Linked DNA regions of Homo sapiens: region 1 is linked to region 2. The links are contacts of gene promoters, found by promoter capture Hi-C in blood cells and fetal thymus (Javierre and others, 2016). All regions are on one chromosome and are shown on one strand. Each heading gives the region's core, a stretch centred on a gene start or on the middle of the fragment in contact. The rest is flanking DNA. Distances are from core to core; before and after follow the strand shown.

Region 1 (3,098 bases), core at 561-3,060, 82 kb before region 2:
TAAAATAACTATAATCCATAATACATATTTACCAAAAAAGGGGGAAAAAGCATAAAAGACTGTTGTCTTCATATGTTGAAGCCCTAATCTTAATATGATGATATTCGGTGGTGGGGCCTTTGGGAGGTAATTGAGTTTAGATGAGGTCATGAGAATGGGGCCCCCAGGATGGCATTAGTGCCCTTATTAGAAGAGACACCAGAGAGCTTCTTTGGCTCTCTGGGGATACAGTGAGAAAGCAGCCATCTGCCAGACAGAAAGAGACCTTCTTATCAGGAATCAAATCTGCCAGCACCTTGATCTGAACTTCCTAGCCTTCAGAACCGTGAAAAATAAATATGTTGTGTAAGCTACCAGTCTATGGTATTTCATGATAGCAGCCTGAGCTGCTAAGACAAAGAGTAAGGATCAAAATCCAACTATATGCTGCATACAAGCAACAAGCCTTAAGTCTAAAGACACAGAAAAGCTAATTTAAAAAAAGGATGAGGCCGAGTGCAGCGGTTCATGTCCATAATCCCAGCACTTTGGGAGGCAGAGGTGGGCAGATCACCTGAGGTCAGGAGTTCGAGACCAGCCTGGCCAACATGGCAAAACCCCATCTTTACTAAAAATACCAAAATTAGCCAGGCGTGGTGGCATGCACCTGTAATCCCAGCTACTCAGAAGGCTGAAGCAGGAAAATTGCTTGCAGTGAGCCGAGATTGCACCACTGTACTCACCCTGGGTGACAGAGTGAGACTCTTTCAAGAAAAAAAAAAAAACAAACACCAAATAAATAAACCTTGGAAACACCAAACTAAAGTACTCAATAAGACGGGGTTGAGTAATGAATTTCAGCTGGGGCAAAAAGACTTTAGGAAAAAAATAAAATTAAAAATGAGGAAATGACTTGGGGAAAGCAAGCAAGTATTTGGTGTTTGTATGTGGGTGGGTGAATTCAAAATGTGGGAAATAACTTAGTCACCATTCCATAGTGCAGTTCAAGGGGGGAAGCACAGAAATTGCTGTTATTATCTATCTCATACTCAGCTGGTTTATTTTCCTGGTAATTAAGTTTTTCATTTCTTGTTTCTGTTCGGGTTGGTTAGGTTTGGTCTTTTTCTCTCGACAGGAATGCAAGCTCTGTCACTTTTGAAATATGCCCTTTAGTCTGTGTTTTGGTGTGACTTTTTACACTTCATTTCCCCAGTGCCTATGACAGTGCCAGGAATGGAATAAATACTCCAGAAATATTCAATGGGTGAATTAACAAAATCCAAGAAAGAAACTTTTTATCTGATTACATATCTAATAGCAAGGGTGACACAGCAAGCACATTCTAAACCAGGGGCCAGCAAGCTTTGTAGGTAAAGGGCCAGATAGCAAATATTGCAGGGTTGGTGGGCCAGGTATGATGTCTACCACATGTTCTTTCTCTGTTTGTTTTTTCAACATTAAACGGCTGGGGGGAAAAACATTCAATGTGAAAATCATTCTTAATTGTAGGGGCATCCATGAAGATGCTGACAGGCCAGGTGTGGTTTATAGTTTGTAGACCTTTGTTGTAAAATATCATCTATAAACTCAGAAGATAAGAGCAAAATATTTCTGAGAGAGAGAGACTATCAAGAAAATCCAGTTTGGGCTGGGCATGGTGGCTCATGCCTGTAATCCCACCACTTTGAGAGGCCAAGGCGGGTGGAACACTTGAGCCCAGGCGTTCTAGACCAGCCTGGCCAACATGGCGAAACCCCATCTCTACTAAAAATACAGAAATTAGCCAGGCATAGTGGCATGTGCCTGTAATCCCAGCTACTCGGGAGGCTGAGGCACAAGAACCCCTGAGACAGAGGTTGCAGTGAGCCGAGATCACGTCGCTGCACTCCAGTCTGGGCAACAGAGTAAGTGAGACTCAGTCTCAAAAAGCATAATAAAATAAAATTTTAAAATTAAAAAGAAAATCCCGTTTGAACTTTTGCTTTTTTTTTTTTTTTTAGTTTTTTTTTTTCCTTTTCTAAATGAAGACTTTAGGATCCTAATATTAGCCTTGATGGTTATCTACTTATGAGTTTTTTTTAAATCTAGGTCTAATTTGATCCTATTGAAGGAAAAAATTAATTCAAGGACCTGGAACAATAAAATGCAAAGTGAGCAAGTTGCAATGCTGCAACAGAGAAGCCAACTTGAATCGAAGTGTACGGTTTCTGCCATCTCTCATTGTTTTCCATACATCCTACCAATTAGATTTTAAGTTTCAGCAACCTCATTAGTTTTTCAGGCTTTATGACTCAAGCTTAGGGGGTTGGGGGTGGAGGGCAGCAACCCACAAAACAAAGACTTCAATGTCTCTAAAAGCTGAGAAAATTCCAGCATTGTCAGGGCAGATACTATTTATAACCCATTTAATGTGTATGCTCCCAAATGCATTTTCTACGCACAGCATCTGACCTACACTTCTGAATTCCTGGCTTTAGCAATGGAAGTGAAGCAGCTAAAAGTCTGACGATCAAAGGGAAAGAAATGAACTCCTTGCTATTATTATTTTATAACATCCAGCATCATGTGACAAACAGAATCAAAGGGTTCCTGTTTTTGACTCACCTTTGTCAAGAAAGTGCCTCATTGCTATAAGTTTGGGGCTCAAATTGCTGGAAAATGTGGGTTTGGAAAATATCCTACAACGAGGCTGAAATTTTTTTAAAAAGTTGTGGAAAATCTCATTTAACTTTTTTCCAGAACACACACACAGACACATACACACACACACACACACGAGTAAATGCTGAGACATTTTATTGAATGTGTATATATGTGGCCTATAATAACACACATTCTATTTCTATGTTGACACTTGTATTGCACCAGAGCAGGGATCTACAGGAAGATATCTTTTCACGATGTTGCCCAAAGTGCAGAGTGTTGGGCAGGCCAGCATCGCAGCAAAACTTCTATAATGATTGATTACAACAGACTGCAAGGCCTGCACATCACCTCCATTCCATTCATGGATCCCAACCAAATTAATTTTCTCCTGTGCCAATTCTATCACATCCCCTAGGTTTACAAAGAAGTTTTACCAGGCCATCAGAATCCAAAAAGAACTGAACATTTTTGTC
Region 2 (3,360 bases), core at 114-2,613:
TCACCCAGGCCCCATCCACAGCGAAGGGCAAGGCAGGAAGTTACAGCCGAGTGCAGAAGCCCTGCTGGATGCTTCCAATGATAGCCTTATCCTAGCTCACAGCTTAGAGGGGTGGAAATAAACCCTTCTCAGCTATTCCAGCCTCCATTGACCATGTCCCTTTTAGGAAACATTGTAAACGAGAAGTACGAGGCGTCCAGAGTGGCTGCCGGACAGAGAGAACGGAAGACACCCAATCCATTTCGACAGACAAGTGGGAATGGAGGCAGCAAAAAGGGTGGCTCAAGGGAAGTGGGCACTAGAGGGGATGGGGCATCAGAGCAGTGGATGTCTTCACTCCTCGTCTAAAAAGTTTCTGAAGTCCCCAGCGAATTAAACACGTGTCTCTGCCAAGCGGGGTACACTCCCAGTAACCCCCAAGACCAAGGCTCATTTCCCCTCTGCAGGTAAGGCCTGGATTTGAATGGGACTCTATTTCCAGAGAGTTTAACTTGAACAAGGGGACACGCCCACCGCTGCCCTGGCCCCTCCCGCGCCCGCTAGCAGCGGTCTGGAGGTGAGAGGCGGAGCCCAGAGAAACCTCACCTGCAGGAGCCCAGAGGCTAGTTTCCCCACAGAGACCGGACTCCCAAGAGGTGACTCCAAGCGAACTAATTGCTTCCCTCCAATGTCGCATCTCAGTCCACCCAAAGCTCTCCCTCTCCGAGCCCTCAACCCGCTGGGATCTTCAGAAAGGGGGTTCACTAGAACTCTTTCTCCCCCATCCCACCGGGACAGCGTCCCGGCCCGGCGCTCCTCCTCCCCCACATCGCGCCAGGTCGCTCCCCAGCCCCCAATCAGTCTCAGCAGCTGGCATCCTCGGCCGAGGGTCCCCGCGCCTGGACGCTTCGTCCCCGGCGACCCGCCGCGCCCCCGCGAAGTGCGCTCCATCCGAGCTTCCTAAAGGCGCACTTGGGCCGGGCAGGCGCGGCCCCCAACTGCGAGGGGCAGTTCGCCCTCTGCTCCGGGGCAAGGGCACTGGGTCCTTGTCCCAGAGCTCCCGCGACCCGCTCTCCTCGCCCCAGAGTGGCAGACGCAGTGCCCCCCAGCCGCCCGGTGCGCCTCTGCCCAGCTGTCACCACTCACCTGCTCTTCAGCGGTTGACTTTTGAGTTCGTAATAGGTTTTGGGCTCTTCATGAAACTCCTCCCCGACTTCGAAATCCGGCACGATCCCCGATTCGGACTGCATGGCTCCCGCTTCCCGTCCTTCCACTGCTGGAAAGTGAGAACAGAGCCCGGGGGCGGAGGGAAGGTAGCTGGGCCTGGGTCCCCCGAGCCGTGCGCCCCGGCGCAGTGCCGAGCTCTGCCCGCTCGCCGGCTCGCGGCCGCCCGCCCCAGCGCGGGGAGTTTACACTCGCACCCGGGCGGGAGGGGCTGGCGGCCGAGCGCCGCCTGGGATCTGTAGTTCGGCCCGGGCGGGGCATTCCCAGCTCGCCTGGGGAGCCGCTCCCACGAAAACTACAGCTCCCAGAAGGCCAGGCGGGGGAGAGGCAACGTGGTGGACACCGCTAGTGCAACTCCTGTTTGGATTCATTGTCAATGTCAGCAGCTCCTCTCCCTCCTCTCTCCCCACTTGCTTCAAGGGTACAGACTTGGCTACTTAATATGAATAAGAATGGACACTGACTGCTCTTCTACCATCGCCCCGACCTCTCAGCTCAGACATCTGCGAGGGCACGCCAAGTGCTTATTTTAAAAATAAAATAGTCAAGGGTTTTGGCACAAGAAAGTTTTAGCATTCGAGCCTGTCTTAAAATAAAAGGACTTCCTATCAGCTCGCATGCTTCCCTGGGCTGCTGCGACATATCAGCTTGTCCTCGGATTGGAACAACGAGGAAGAACTTTCCTTCGCTCTGTAATGAAAACGTTATTGGAGAAATTGTTCTTGTGCGTTCCTTTTCTAGAACTAAGTCTGGACTTTTACAATAGTATTCATCAGTTGAATGGCTCTTTCCCCTTTATCCAAGTAGCCACTTCTAATCTACAGCAGCAATTGAAAGATTCGGTTAATTTTAAAAGGCACAAAGTTACAAAATAGCGTCGTTGCTCTCTGCTTTTAATTTCTCAGTTGACTGGGAGTTCAAATGAGATTTGTCCTAGCATTTCAGGAGTGAAGATGTACAAGTGAACTGTACAAGTGTCCACCCCTTCCCGAGCTTCCCGGAACTCACTTAGGGAAGAGAATTTTAAAACTCTCCGTTGTGGCTCATTTGTACTTCTAGTTCTTCCCTCTGATTAGCTCCAGTAGGACGTGTTCCTTCTTTTCAAAAGTGTTTTGAGGCATCAGGGAGGCAGTATAGAGTTACAGTGGCATTTAAAGGTATAAGACTCAGAGTTGAAATCCCCAGTCCTTCTAAGAAGAGCTGTGCAATCCTGAGCATGTCACTTGGTTCCTAGAAGCCTCCATTTCTTCATCCATAAAAGAAGAGATTGGCAAACCAGTTTTAGAAGATGTTGCAAGGTCAAATGTAAGAGAAAGTGATTTGCAATCTATAAAAACTCTGCTCAGTGGTCATTCTTTATTAGGTCTTGAAGTTATTCCTTTCAGATTAACATCTCATTTTGGTGTTTGGCCTTTCAGAATTAATAAACTAAATGACTGTCCTAGGAGAAAATTCTAAAGAGGCTACAGTGACAACTGGGCACCTCCCAGGAGTTACCCCTTTGCATATCTTGCCTCCCACTGAAACATTTTAATTTCACATCAGAAAAGACATCCAGTAGGATGGATCGATGTTAGGGCTGGAGTTCTCAAGGTGATTTGGAAAAAGTGCAGAAGGCACACTATGTTGCAGTAGCAATTACCAAATTTTCAGAATAAAAATTAGTCCCCAACATACGACTTTTAGGCCCTCCCCTGAAACTATTAAACTATGTCAGAATACCTGAGAACACCCCTAAGGAAAGTGGGAGTTTTGTGCTCATAAAAGTGGGATCCTAGATTCCTTAATAGATGGACTGCTGGAAATTAGCTGTCAAAAGCAAACAAAGAAAACGTGTTTCCTTCATGTTCTCTGGGAGAGAAAGAAGAAAGATCAAACATGAAGGAAACATGCAGTCTAGACTTCTAATCTCATCTGGGCTCTCAATTATCAGTGCTTGGAATATGGGAGGAGGGGTTGTCATAATAACTTATGGATGTTACAGACGTTTAAGGGGTATGGGCCAGAGACACTACACATATTGCACAATAACAAATTTTCTTGTCCAAATTTCAGTGGTATGTATCCCCATTGAGAAACATGGGAAGCTGCCTAATCTTTGGGCTCACCAGAAGTTTTTTAATCTGAGGGAAGCTACGGATCCTCTTCTCAGAAAAT

The links. The method cuts DNA at HindIII sites, captures the fragments that hold promoters and counts their contacts. A CHiCAGO score of 5 or more calls a contact.
Region 1: a contact is called between a fragment that was not itself captured here and the fragment with the promoter of MITF in region 2, in 1 of 17 cell types (M2 macrophages). The highest score is 5.1, in M2 macrophages.

The regions. Positions count from the first base shown.
Region 1 is chr3:69,820,570-69,823,667 of GRCh38, reverse strand. The region is part of intron 1 of MITF (melanocyte inducing transcription factor); the gene reads right to left. Among named protein-coding and RNA genes, the nearest start is that of MITF, 83 kb to the right of the region's middle. The HindIII fragment of the contact is 934 bases long and covers 1,344-2,277 here.
Region 2 is chr3:69,737,467-69,740,826 of GRCh38, reverse strand. It overlaps MITF (melanocyte inducing transcription factor), which reads right to left and starts at 1,363. Exons shown (of 10, transcript NM_001354604.2): 1 at 1,126-1,363. The coding sequence starts at 1,229. RefSeq lists a silencer at 1,128-1,427 and a promoter at 1,227-3,360. The HindIII fragment of the contact is 10,451 bases long and covers 1-3,360 here.